Regions from separate parts of the Homo sapiens genome. Here all the other regions are linked to region 1. Evidence: promoter capture Hi-C in human tissues and cell types (Jung and others, 2019). All regions are on one chromosome and are shown on one strand. The core of a region is centred on a gene start or on the middle of the fragment in contact, and the rest is flanking DNA. Distances in the headings are between cores, read along the strand shown.

Region 1 (3,466 bases), core at 416-2,915:
TAGCAAAGAGTCTGTGGTTAGAACTGGGGCTTCAATTAAGGGTCTTATCACACTGCCCACATGACCAAAATGGAAATCAAGGACAAACCAAGGGGAGAAATATTACAAAAGCAAAATGGGAAAATGGCAAACAGATCCTTTTCAATTAGCTGCTGCATTTATCTCTTCCCCCAAAAGAGAATCTTCTGCTGCTTCTGCTTCTTCATCTGCACAACGGGGATGTAGCCATCATACATGCCTGCAAGGCTGTAGTGAGATCCTGGACATGAAAGCATTCTGAAAACTGAAAAGTACAATGCACCTGTGTTTCTGCCTAAGCTCTCTAAGGTGAGTGGCCTTAGATAAGTCAACATCTCCTGGCCTCGGCTTCTTTAATTACCGTATTAAAATAGAGGTAATAAGAGTATCTCACAGGATTGTTGTGAGGAAGAAGTGAAATAATACAAAGCATTTTGGGGCCTAAACATAAGAGTGCAACTATCCAGTTAATAAGATTACTAGCCTAGTCAACTGGACTCTTTCTTGAAAGGAGGGGTATAAAAAAACCAATACTGGCCAAGGAACTGCAAGAACTAGGCTCTAACCAGCTGGGTGACCTTGAGCAAGCCGCTGACCCTCTCCAAATCGTTGTTCCCGTGGTCGCAAAATTAGTATTTTAAGAGTGGATCCCTGGGCTCCTACCAGCTCTTCCACTCCGCTGTTAAGGCGCTGGAACAAAGGCCACCCGCTCCCCAGCCCGTACCCGAGGGGCCACAACTCAAAATTTCTTCTGCTCAATTCCCCTTGCAGCGTGACAGCAGGAGCGCCCGGGTCTCCATCCCGGAGAGATGTGTCCACACTCCGCCGCCACTGCTCTCTTCATCAGCAACTTGCTTCTGCAGTCGCTGCCCAAAGTTTCGCGGAGCACCCGGCGACCTGGCCGTCGGTCAATCCTGAGAAGCCCAGGGATTCGGGGCGCGGAGACTGGGGGCTGGGCCCCGGGAATCCCAAAGACGTCCCCGCGGCCAGGAAGGGAGTGACAGGTGCGACGCGCGGTCGCGGGCGGCGGGAGAGCGGACCACGGAAACCGCGTGTGGGCGCGCGAGGGAGGCGGCGGCCACGCGCTCTCCTTAGGCCGCTCCCTGAGACGCCCCCGCGACGTCCCTAGCCCCGCGCTCTGGAACCCGCGACCCTCGCGCCGCTTTCGGCCCCGCGGCGCCCCAGATCCCACGGCCTCCCGGAGCGGCGCAGCTGGGTCGGGCTCACGCTCGCAGCGCCGGAAGGGTTGAGGACCGCCGGGGGCACCGTGCGCACGGGGTTCTTCCCGCGCGAACCGGGGCTGTCGGGGGGTGGGCGCACGCGCACCCGGGCGCGCCGCCGTAACCCCTTCCTCCCCGCGCGGCCCCCGCACTCCCACCCACCCACCACTCACCGTCGATGTCTCCCAGGGTCAGCTCGTCGCCCAGCTCCGTGAGGGTCTCCATGGTCTCCAGACCACCCAGCTCGCCGCTGTCGTCCATCGCCCGGCTCAGCGCAGAAGCCCCCCCTGCCGTCCCGCTCAGGGAGACGCGGGGGCGGTGCCGTCGCCACCGCCCATGACACCCGACAACCCCCGCCCGGCACCGCCTCACCGACGGGTGCCACCCGCCGCCATGTTTGCGTTGCGCCCGGGCGCCGCACAGAAAGGGCGGGGCGGGATTCCCCCGCCCCAGCCCGCGCCCCCTGCGGCCCCGCCTCCAGGCCGCGCGCCCCCCTGTTTGTTGTCAATGGGACCAGGCTCATCTCAGCCAATGGGCGAGCGAAGCGGTGCGTGGGGTGATGGCGCGTCATCGATCAGCAGCTCAGATTTGCATAGTGAGGTCCCTCCCCCCGCGGCCTCGGAGCGAATGCCTGGAGTAGCCGTCCGGTCATCATCTTAACCTTCTCCGCCTTGTTTAAAGGAGCCGCTGCCTTCTCCGTTGGATCTGCGCCACACGCAAGTCCGTCCACTGGCCTGGGAGTGAAGGGTTAACAGGCCACCCTCCACCTGCGACCGCTGGCCGCCTCCAGGCCTGGCTGGGAGCACATTACGTCATCTTCCCAGCTGCCTACCCCCGCCCTGCCCGCCTGAGAAAGCCAGCGGAGTCAAACCTGGACCCCAGCGCTCGGGACGGGAGTCCGGGTCATCCAAGTCCCGCTTCTCCCAGCCTCCTTACAAAGGCGGGCACGGAGGCTTGACAAGGTTGCAGATTGTCCCAGGGCGGTCAGGATTTTACGTCTTCTGCTTTGCACCCGCCGTGACCTCGCGCTTACTCCAGTGGTCCTCAATCTCTGGCACCTCGGAACCACTGAGGACCTGAAAACCACGCCAGTGCCCAGGCCCACCGACGGCCTCCTGAGAGGGGGGCCCCGGGCACGAGTTTTTTGAAAAAGTTCCACCGGGATTCTGAAGTGCAGCCCACCCACTCCTTCAAGCACCTCACTGCCCCATCTTGCAGCTGGTCGTGTTGTAAACTTCTAGGAATTTATCCAAAGGAATAAAAATTACAAGTGCTTAAAGAAGTGCTGTAACTAGGAAGAAGTGAGAATAAGGAAATGAATATGTAAATTACATCCACACGATGGAATACCATGGGATCATTAAAAATTACGCACACAAATGTATATTTATTAGCAAGAAAAGGCGTTCACAATATATTGATAAAAGGGAAAAGTTGAAGTTTCCTGCCAGTTTGTGAGAGGCAGCTGTTGCTTAGTGATCAATAATTAAGAACACACAGGCTGTGTGGAGGCAGACACATGGATCCACTAATTCACTGTGACCTTGGGTTAATTGTTCTAAGCCTCAGTTTAGTCATCTCTAAAATGGGGATAAAATAGCATCCCTCATAGCTGTGGTTAAGTGAGATTATTTGCACATTCAATTGACAATATTTATTGAACATCTCTGTGGCAGGGAAACAAATGGTTCCTGCCCTCTGAGAGCTTCCAGTCTAGCAAAAAAAAAAATCAGAAATCCCACACCCGTATTAAACATAAAAATAAATTACAGATGATGGTACAAGTGATCAAGGAAAGGTAATGGATGTGATGAAACTAACAAGGGCCCTGACTTGTGCTGTCAAGAAGCCTCTGAAGAAGTGACATTTAAGATGAAACCTAAAATTATGAGAGAACTGCAGCTGTTACAGCCAAAGGGGAAATGATGACATGGACAAAGGCCTCGAGGCAGGAGGAGCTGCTGGCAGCCAGCTCTCGGCATAAGCTTTGGCATACAGTAAGTGCCTTGCATACTGCTGTATTGCAATTGAAAAAATAAGGATCTGGCCAGGCGCGGTGGCTCACACCGGTAATTCCAGCACTTTAGGAGGCCGAGGTGTGCAGATCATTTGAGGTCAGGAGTTGGAGACCAGCCTGACCAACATGGTGAAACCCCGTCTCTACTAAAAATACAAAAATTAGCCGGGTGTGGTGGCGCATGCCTGTAATCCCAGCTAACCGGTAGGAG
Region 2 (3,466 bases), core at 588-3,087, 230 kb after region 1:
CTATTTTTTGTTTTATTTGAGACAGGGTCTCACTCTGTTGCCCAGGCTAGAGTACAGTGGCGCAATCTCGGCTCACTGCCTCCCAAGTTCAAGCAATTCTCGTGCCTCAGCCTCCTGAGTAGCTGGGACTACAGGTGCATGCCACCACACCCAGAGAGTTTTTTTATTTTTATTTTTAGTAAAGACTGGGTTTCTCTGTTGGCCAGGCTGGTCTTGAACTCCTGGCTTCAAGTAATCTGCCTGCCTCGGCCTCCCAAAGTGCTGGGATTACAGGGGTGGGCCACTGTGACATGTCTGAAGTAGAATTTATTTTTATCTTCTGGAAGTCTTTACCCTTTTCCCCAAGGAGGTCATTGTACCTAATAAGAGCCTCCATTTATCAGACATCTGTATATCACATACTGTGAAGCTTTCTATACATTAACATTACCAGTCACAGCAACTCTGAACTGGAGAAACAGACTTAAACAGGCTGGGTAAACTTGCCCAAGATCCACCACTAGGAAGTGGAAAATCCAGGATCTGAACCCATATGGTCCCCTTAACTATCTCTGAGGATGCTATGCCAAGTGTGTGGTGGCTCATGCCTGTAATCCTAGCACTTTGGGAGGCTGAGGCAGGTGGATCACTTGAGGCGAGGAGTTCGAGACCAGCCTGGCCGACATGGCAAAATCCTGTCTCTACTAAAAATACAAAAATCAGCCGGGCTTGGTGGTGCATGCCTGTAATCCCAGCTACTTGGGAGGCTGAGGCATGAGAATCACTTGAACCCGGGGGGCAGAGGTTGCAATGAGCCGAGATCACGTCACTTCACTCCAGCCTGGGCAACAGAGAGACTCTGCCTCTAAAAAAAAGAAAGGCACAGGGCAAACAGCGAAGGTAGCAGTTAGCAATCAGTAATCTGCCATGTCGCCGTGTGAAGTGATAAGCAGGAGTGAGTGGGTGATGTTTGCTGACACTCCACGTCTTTCAATGCCCTTCCTCTGCCTCCTGAGCACTGCTGTAGAGTATCTCTCATGGACTCTTGTGATGGTCTGCTTGGTCTGCTCTCTTCCCTCCAATTCATCTGCTATCCCACAACTACAGTTATCTTTTCCGAACATGGATCTGATCAAGGCACTCTCCAGCCTCACAGCCTCTTTGAGTCCAGGCCTGCCCGCTTTGCTGGCCATCCTGTTGGCCGCTCCTCCCCTTGGCACCATCACTGCCCCCTTCACTCTGCCCTGCAGGCTTTAGACTTCACAGCCATGCATGTGCACATCTTGTTCTCTCCCACAGAAATGTCCATCCCTGCCCTTACTTGTCATTGGTAATGGAAGCTCACAAAAGTAGTTTATTATATTTAGTACCTTATTTTTACCACTATGATACAGCATATTAACATTGTGTTTTAGTTAATTATTTGTGTGTCTCAGTCCATTTGACTTTGAGCTTCTCAAGGGCAGGAAAGTGATACGTTCCTGTTTGCATTTCCACACCTAACATTGTTTCTGGCACATAGAGGTAGAATAACGTGCTTTAACTATTTAAATGGATAGCATTTGCAAAGTTTTATCCTATCAGTTTCTGAAGGATTTCACCTCAATGAAGAAATGAGTAATAACATTCATTGTATTACTATAGTCTTACTGTACGTGAGACAGAGAAGTTAAAAAGGCATAGCTGAATTGACCCCAAAGAGGAAAGAATAGCAGACATAAAACTGGGGTACCTTTATACTAGTGTTTTTAATCTTGCATTCTGATAAAAGACTCTCATTACTTTTCAACTTACTTACACTCTGTCACAACCTAAAGACCTTACTGGAGGGGACTTGCATTCCTAGAAAGTCCCTCAAGAGGTTTATGACAGGTTACCCTGGGTTTGAGTGATGTCATGAATTTACCAAGGCTGAGGGGCCACTTATTCTAGTCCCAAGTGGCTAAATCTCTTCTTCTCTCCACAGGGAAACAACTGGAAGGCATCTGGTAAGTTGGGTGGGTCTCCTTACTTTGACTAGTTTTGAAACAAGGCAGCACTCTATGCATTTCAGGTTCTAGTCTGTGGCTTCCAGCATGAAACCTAGCTCTCCATGCTATAAATCTTCAAGCCCTAAAGCAGTGCTTCTCATCAGTTCTTTTGCTCTCTCACCCTGGGACATTTGGCCATGTCCAGAGATATTTTTGGTTGTCATACAGGGAGGAGGATGCTACTGGCATCTTGTGGATAGAGGCAGGGACGCTGCTCAACAGACTAGAATGCACAGGACAGCCCCACACAACAAAGAAGTATCCAGCCTCAAATGTCAATAGTGCCAAGATTGAGAAGCCCTGATCTGTGGTATTTATCATATTCATACCTTTGGTTTGTTGGTTTTATAAGACTGGTCCCCACAGTCCTATCCTTGGGCAGAAATTACTCTCATTGCATTATGGTGTTTGCTTTTTCTCAAAAGTTTAAGTTTTCTGGCTTACTGTGTCTCTCTCTGTGTGACAGGCACACATCCATAGTTGTGCACAAGGATGAGTTCTTCTTCGGCAGTGGTGGTATCTCCAGCTGCCCCCCGGTGAGTGTCTTCCCCTACACTCTGTCCTGCAGTCTCAGGTTCCTGGGGGCTCCTGTAGACCAGGAGCTTTGCTTCTACTATGGACTTCTGGCATTGTTCCTCAAAGCCACCTGAAGACTTGGCTCAATAAAACCTTTCCCAGACACCCCAGCCAGTTCCTCTCCTCTCTGTTCCCATGGCACGTGTGGGTCCTTCTGTCTCACAGAGAGCATGTTATGGTGAAATGAGCTGTTTCTGGTTCTCCACAGGGAACTGTGTAAGCTCCTTGCGAGCTGAGACCTTCCATCTCCATCCCCTGCACAGTGTCCGGCTCATCCTAGGAACGCAACTGATGTTAAGCTGAATGATGAGGGCTCTGAGAAGCATCAAGACTTGCCCAAACTTAAACAGCCAATAAGGGACACCAGTCCTAGAACCCAGGATTATCACACTAAAGCCCACACCCTTTTCCGAAAATTTCTTTTTTTTTTTTTTTTTTTTTTTTTTTTGAGATGGAGTCTCGCTCCGTCGCCCAGACTGAAGTGCAGTGGTGCGATCTCGGCTCACTGCAAGCTCCGCCTCCCGGGTTCGCGCCATTCTCCTGCCTCAGCCTCCCGAGTAGCTGGGATTACAGGTGCCTGCCACTACACCCAGCTAATTTTTTGTATATTTTAGTAGATACGGTGTTTCAGCATGTTGGCCAGGCTGATCTCAAACTTCTGACCTCGTGATTAGCCCACCTCGGCCTCCCAAAGTGCTGGGATTACAGGCGTGAGCCACAGCGCCCAGCCTTTTCCAAAAATTTCTATCAGCTATCCAAGTGTTGTCACAGTAGGTGCTCAAGCAATGGCCAAGCAGCCATTCATTTTGGTTGTGTGTTTGTTTGTTTTTGCTACATCCTACAGGAAGGATTTTTTTTTTTTTTTTGAGACGGGGTCTTGC
Region 3 (3,466 bases), core at 354-2,853, 210 kb before region 1:
GACACTCAGACTAAAGGTGAAGGGATAGAAAAAGATACTCCATGCAAATGGTAACCAAAAGAGAGCAAAAGTGGCTATACTTTTATCAGACAAAACAGACTTTTTTTTTTTTTTTTTTTTTTTAAAGACAGAACCTCGCCCTGTTGCCAGGCTAGAGTGCAGTGGCATGATCTCGGCTCACTGTAACCTCCGCCTCCTGGGTTCAAGTGATTCTCCTGCCTCAGCCCCCCGAGTAGCTGGGACTACAGGTGTGTGCCACCACGCCCAGCTAATTTATATATTTTTAGTAGAGATGGGGTTTCACCATGTTGGCCAGGATGGTCTCGCTCTCTTGACCTCGTGATCTGCCTGTCTCAGCCTCCCCTCCCAAAGTGCTGGGATTACAGGCGTGTGCCACTGTGCCCAGCCAAAACAGACTTTTAAGTCCAAAACTGTTACTAGGGACAAAGAAAGTCATATAATGATAAAAGTTTCAATTCAACAGGAAGCTATAACAATTATAAACATGTATGTACTGAACATCAGAGCACTTAAATATATAAATCAAATATGGACAGATATGAAGAAAGAGGTTAAAAACAATTTAATAGTAGGAGAATTCAATATTCCACTTTTAATAATGGATAGCACATTCAGGCAGACAACCAATAAAAAAACAACTGATTTGAATAACACTATACACCAAATGGACCTAACATACAGAACGTTTTAGCCAACAGCAGCAGAATACAATTTCATCTCAAGTATACATGGAACATATTCCAGGATAGGTCACATCTTAAGTCACAAAACAAGTTTTAACAAATTTAAGAAGATTGAAATAATACCTGGTATCTTCTTAGGCCACAGTGGAAAGAACTAGAAATCGGTAACATAAAGAAAATAGAAAAATTCACAAATTCATAAAAACAATACACTCTTGAACAACTGGATAAAAGAGGAAATCCAGAGAGAATTTTAAAATATCTTGAGACAAAAATAAAATTCTAACTTTCTAAAATTTACAGGAATCAGCAAAAGCAGTTCCATAAGGGAAATGTATAGCATTAAACACCTATGTTTAAAAAGAAGAAAGATCTCGGTCAGGCGAGGTGGCTCACACACCTGTTATCCCAGCACTTTGGGAGGCCGAGGCAGGCAGATCACTTGAGGTCAGGAGTTCAAGACTAGCCTGGCGAACATGGTGAAACCTCGTCTCTACTAAAATACAAAAAATTAGCCAGGCGTGGTGGCAGGCAACTATAATCCCAGCTACTCAGGAGGCTGAGGCAGGAGAATTACTTGAACCCAGGAGGCGGAGGTTGCAGTGAGCTGAGATCGCACCATTGCACTCCAGCCTAGGCAACAGAGCAAGACTCTGTCTAAAAAAAAAAAAAGAGAGAGAGAGAAGATAGATCTCAATTAAAGAACCTAACATTGGCCAAGGCATGGTGGGAGGCCAAGGCGGGTGGATCACTTGAAGTCAAGAGTTCGAAACCAGCCTGTCCAACATAGTGAAACCCCATGTCTACTAAAAATACAAAAAATTAGCCGGGTATGGTGGTGCCTGCCTGTAGTCCCAGCTACTCTGGAGGCTGAGGCAGGAGAATCGCTTGAACCCAGGAGGCGGAGGTTGCAGTGAGCTGAGGTTGAGCCACTGCACTCCAGCTCTGGGTAACAAAACAAGACTTCATCTCGAGGAAAAAAAAAAAAAAAACCTAACTGTACAAATCAAGAAACTAGAAAAAGAGGAACAAACTCGACCCAAAGTTAGCAGAAGGACAGAAATAAGAAAAATTAGAGCAGAAATAAACAAAATAGAGAATAGAAAAAACTAAGTTGGCTTTTTAAAAAGATCAACAAAATCATCAAGCCTTTAGCTAGATTAAAAAAGAAGATTCAAATAAATAAAATCATAAATAAGAGAGGAGACATTACAATGGATGACACAGAAATAAAAAGGATCATAAGGGACTATTATGACAACCTATATGCCAATAAATGGAATAACCTAGAAGAAATGGATAAATCCTTAGTAACACACACACTACCAAGACCGAATCAAGAAGAAACAGAAAGTCTGAGCAGACCAATAACAAACAAGGAGTTGAATCAGTAATCAAAAACATTCCAGGCTGAGCGTAGTGGCTCACACCTATGATCACAGTACTTTGGAACGCTGAGCCAGGAGGATTGCTTGGGCTCTAGAGTTTGAGACCAGCCTAGGCAACACAGGAAGACCTCACTGATACTGGAAAAAAAAAAAAAAAGCCTGTAATCCCAGCACTTTGGGAGGCCAAGGCGAGTGGATCACCTGAGGTCAGGAGTTCGACACCAGCCTGTCCAACATGGTGAAACCCTGTCTCTACTAAAAAAAAATACAAGAATTAGCCAGGCATGGTGGTGGGCGCCTGTAATCCCAGCTACTTGGGAGATGGAGGCAAGAGAATTGCTTGAACCCAGGAGACGGAAATTGCAGTGAGCCGACACAGTGCCACTGCACTCCACCCTGGGCAACGGGGTGAGACTCTGTCTCAAAAAAAAAAAAAAATTAGCCAGGAATGGTGGTGTGCACCTGTAGTCCCAGCTACGTAAGAGAGGCTGAGGCAGGAGGATCACCTGAGCCCAGGAGATTGAGGCTGCAGTGAGCAATGATCATACCACTGCACTGCAGCCTAGGCAACAGAGTAAGACCCTATCTCGAAAAAGAAAAAAAAAATCCAGCTGGACGCAGTGGCTCACGCCTGTAATCCCAGCACTTTGGGAGGCCGAGGTGGGTGTATCACCTGAGGTCAGGAGATCGAGACCATCCTGGCTAACACGGTGAAACCCCGTCTCTACTAAAAGTACAAAAAATTAGCTGGGCGTGATGGCAGGTGCCTGTAGTCCCAGCTACTCGGGAGGCTGAGGCAGGAGAATGGCGTGAACCCGGGAGACGGAGCTTGCAGTGAGCCAAGATCACACCACTGCACTCCAATCTGGGCAACAGAGCGAGACTTGGTCTCAAACAAAAAAAAAATCCAACAAAGAAATGCCCAAGACCGGATGGTTTCATATGCTAATTCTACCAAATATTCAAAGAACACTAGGCCTTCTTAAACTCTTCCAAAAATTAAAAAAGAGAATGCACTCCCAAACTCATTTTATAAAGTCAGCATCACCCTGATTCCAAAGCTAAAGATAACATAAGAAAATTACCAGGCAATATCCCTGATGAACATAAATGCAAAAATCGTTAATAAAACACTAGCAAACCAAATTCAACAGCACATTAAAATGATTATACAACATGATAGAGTGGGATTTATCCATAGGATACAAGGTCAGTTAACATATGAAAATCAACCAATGTAGTAAATCACAATAAGAGGAAGGAAACACAAAAAACAGATGATCACATCAGTAGACCTAGAAAAAGCATTTGACAAAAGTCAACATCCTTTCATGATAAAGACTCAACAAAACAAGTATGGAAGAAATTTACCTC
Region 4 (3,466 bases), core at 313-2,812, 170 kb after region 1:
TTTTCACTTTTTGAGGAAACTCCCAACTATTCTCCATAATAGTGGCTGTACTAATTTACATTCCCACCAACAGTGTATGAGGGTTCCCTTTTCTCCACATCTTTGCCAGCATTTGTTATTGTCTGTTTTTTGGATAAAAGCCATTTTAACTAGACTGTGAATAGATATTTCTGAAAGGATATTGCCCACTGTGATAAGACTATCATAAAAGCAATTTTTAAAAATAGCCCACATGTCCACATTCAGCTTCTCACCGTGTTTTCTCTTGGTAACTTTCCCTTCAGGATTGTAATCTGGTGGGTAAACAAGCTCCTTAAACTCATCCACCAAGGAGCCCAGTCTTTTATTCATTGCTTCAACCTTGGGCACTAGAAAATCAAAACACAGAAGAGTGGCCTGGTGAGTCACGAGCCCCAGCTTGCTGTCCACTTCCAGAACTCTCTGAGAACCAGAAGAGAGAGCACCTAACTGCTAAGGTGGGAGGGGTCTAGGGAAATGTCTTTCCAGCATTTACCAAGTACCTTCCAACACCTGCATTTACTGTAATTACACATACTACCGCCAGGCACTGTTGTAAATGCTTTAAACTTACTCTATTTACTCCTTCTAACAACCTATAGGATAGGTAAATTTGTCCCCAGTTTTTTTTTTTTTAGATTTTTTTTTGAGATGGAGTCTTGCTCTGTTGCCAGGCTGGAGTGCAGTGGCGCGATCTTGGCTCACTGCAACCTCCGACTCCCTGGTTCAAGCGATTCTCCTGCCTCAGCCTCTTGATTTGTCCCCAGTTTTACAGAGGAGAAAAGGAGAGAGATTACATGACTTTCCCAAAGGGCAGTGGTACAGTGGAGATACTAAGCTAGATTCTGGGAATTCAAACAAGTGCTCATGCCTGCGGTGAGCTTACAGCCCAGTGAGAGAGAGGAGGTGGATAAAAACGATGCAGTGGAGTTGGGCAACACCATGCAAGAAGCGACTGTACAGGCACACTGGAACACAGGAGGGGTGGTGAAAGATAAGAAGCAGAAGGCACTGGGAGAGAAATAGCAGGTGACATATAGCTGGAAGGTAGGGTGTTAAGGAGGACAGGGCCAGCAGAGAGGTGAGAAAGATGGGTATGATGAGGTCATGGAAGCTGGGATGCCTGCCAAGGAATTAGGCCTTATCCAAAGAATCCCCTGATAGCTGCATGGAGGGTGAACTGAAAGAGGGTAAGATAAGACAGGTGAAGTGGGGTGTGGGTGGGAGGACCCATAAACATGAGAAGTGACAGAACTGGCAGGACTTACTGATAGAATAGGATTTATTATTTAACTGAAATCACAGAGCTGGAAACCAGAATGTAAGAAGAATAGGAGTGGGATGGGGAGATGACTGGCTGAAACAGGGGGAGCAAGTATGACAGGAAAAGGCAACTTTGGAGGAAAGATCATACTTTTGTTTCCTTTTTTGTTAGCTTACAACTATATTGTTAAATCAAGCTTCTGACATGAGCTGTGTCACATCAAGGGCAAGGGTGATGAGATGGGCAGCTCACATGCCCGTATTTGCCAAGCATGGAGGGGAGCTCTTGCTGGTGTACCTAGATGGCACAATGCTGGAGCCAAACTGTGCTCCTGCTGCATCAGAAGTCCCCTGGTCCACATCATGGGAACCTCTGCAAGAGCACTGGCTCCCAATCTGGGAATCATCTGTAGAGTTTTAAAAGTACAGAGAAGCTGGGTGCAGTGGCTCTTGCCTGTAATCCCAGCACTTTGGGAGGCCGAGGCGGGTGGATCACCTAAGGTCAGGAGTTCAAGATGAGCCTGGCCAATATGGTGAACCCCCATCTCTACCAAAAAATACAAAAATCAGCCAGGCATGGTGGCGGGTGCCTGTAATCCCAGCTACTCGGAAGGCTGAGGCAGGAGAACTGCTTGAGCCTGGGAGCCAAAGGTTTCAGTGAGCCGAGATCCCACCACTGCACTTCAGTCTGGGTGACAAGAGTGAGAACCTGTCTCAAATGAATGAATGAATGTACTGAGGTCCAGCCTATGCTCAGTACTAAAAATAAAAATAAAAGTAGTGAGCATGGTGGCTTATGCCTATAATCCCAGAACTTTGGGAGGCCGAGACAGGTGGATCACTTGAGGTCAGGAATTTGACACCAGCCTGGCCAACATGGTGAAACCCAATCACTAATAAAAACACAAAATAGGCCGTGCGCAGCGCCTCCTGCTTGTAATCCCAGCACTTTGGGAGGCCAAGGCGGGCGGATCACAAGGTCAGGAGATCGAGACCATCCTAACCCAGTGAAACCCCGTCTCTACTAAAAATACAAAAAAATTAACCGGGCTTGGTGGCAGGCACCTGTGTCCTAAACTACCTTGCTAGGCACTAGGCCACCGACTTCTGAATTTGCCTAAGGCCTGAAAGGAGGAGATGGGCTGTTTAGCTCAAAACGTTTCTCTTTCGCCAGACACAGCTAAGCAGGCACCACAGTAACAATGGTCCAATAACTCTTCTGCTTTTAACACTGGGGCTATTTTGTCTAAAATAGATCATTCTGAGACCAGCCGGGCCATCATGGCGAAATCCCGTCTCTACTAAAAATACAAAAATTAGCCGGGCGGGGACCAACTGCTCGGGAGTCTGAGACACGAGAATAGCTTGAACCTAGGAGGCAGACGTAAGCCACTACGCCCGGCTGCGAGTCGCTGGATTCTAAACCCAAATCCACCACTTATTTCCTCTTAAATTATTTATTGATTTTTTGTTTTTGTTTTGTTTTTTGAGACAGCGTCTCGCTCTGTCACCAGGCTGGAGTGCAGTGGTGCAATCTCGGCTCATTGCAGCCTCTGCCTCCTGAGTTCAACCGATCTTCCTGCCTCAGCCTCCCGAGTAGCTGGGACTACAGGCACACGCCACCACACCCAGCTAATTTTTTGTATTTTTAGTAGAGACAGAGTTTAGTAGAGACAGAGTAGAGACATGTTGGCCAGGATGGTCTCAATCTCTTGACCTCGTGATCCACCCGCCTCGGCCTCCCAAAGTGCTGGGATTACAGGCATGAGCCACCGTGCCCAGCCTCTTATATTATTTTTTAAATTTCACCAGCATGTAGTCACAGGGCGGCCTAGTGCAGAGGCAGGTCTCAGAAGCCTGACACTCTCCTCCTCTCACTATGGAACCAGCCAAATCTGTTCCCTGGCTGTTTAAGCTGGTCTGGAAAAGCTTCCAAACAGAGGGGGTCTGGGGAATGAGGTTAAGTGTTTAGAGAGGACTGGGAAATGCACCCAAATTACTGGTGCAGAGTGGAACCAGTAAGAAAGCCTCCCATGAAAAGAACTACTCTATTCAACCTCCTTACATGTCAGGTCCACTGCTTGTTCCGGCTCCATCAAATCCAAGGCCAAGGCCTCCAGGTTCCTGAAGTGCTGCTGCAGCACGGGGTTCTCAAAGCTGTCACTTCTGTTAAAACAATAATGTA

The links. Contacts are between HindIII fragments. The study calls those that stand out against the background at their distance.
Region 2: a contact is called between a fragment that was not itself captured here and the fragment with the promoter of SREBF2 in region 1, in 1 of the 25 tissues and cell types used here (mesenchymal stem cells).
Region 3: a fragment that was not itself captured here is called in contact with the fragment with the promoter of SREBF2 in region 1 in 1 of the 25 tissues and cell types used here (dorsolateral prefrontal cortex).
Region 4: a fragment that was not itself captured here is called in contact with the fragment with the promoter of SREBF2 in region 1 in 2 of the 25 tissues and cell types used here (hippocampus and lymphoblastoid cells).

The regions. Positions count from the first base shown.
Region 1 is chr22:41,831,304-41,834,769 of GRCh38, reverse strand. SREBF2 (sterol regulatory element binding transcription factor 2) reads right to left here and starts at 1,665. Exons shown (of 19, transcript NM_004599.4): 1 at 1,412-1,665. The coding sequence starts at 1,499. It overlaps CCDC134 (coiled-coil domain containing 134), which reads right to left. Exons shown (of 7, transcript NM_024821.5): 7 at 2,606-3,466. SREBF2-AS1 (SREBF2 antisense RNA 1) reads left to right here and starts at 105. Exons shown (of 2, transcript NR_157279.2): 1 at 105-327; 2 at 790-3,466. RefSeq lists silencers at 972-1,361, 1,422-1,761 and enhancers at 1,540-2,196, 1,802-2,311, 3,138-3,466. The HindIII fragment of the contact is 7,421 bases long and covers 469-3,466 here.
Region 2 is chr22:41,606,341-41,609,806 of GRCh38, reverse strand. It overlaps DESI1 (desumoylating isopeptidase 1), which reads left to right. Exons shown (of 6, transcript NM_015704.3): 2 at 1,946-1,967; 3 at 2,476-2,545. Among named protein-coding and RNA genes, the nearest start is that of DESI1, 13 kb to the left of the region's middle. The HindIII fragment of the contact is 5,368 bases long and covers 1-3,466 here.
Region 3 is chr22:42,038,139-42,041,604 of GRCh38, reverse strand. It overlaps a transcript of WBP2NL not described here. Among named protein-coding and RNA genes, the nearest start is that of NAGA, 31 kb to the left of the region's middle. The HindIII fragment of the contact is 5,011 bases long and covers 1-3,466 here.
Region 4 is chr22:41,658,233-41,661,698 of GRCh38, reverse strand. XRCC6 (X-ray repair cross complementing 6) reads right to left here. Exons shown (of 13, transcript NM_001469.5): 11 at 3,347-3,447; 12 at 255-368. Among named protein-coding and RNA genes, the nearest start is that of SNU13, 29 kb to the left of the region's middle. The HindIII fragment of the contact is 4,770 bases long and covers 1-3,466 here.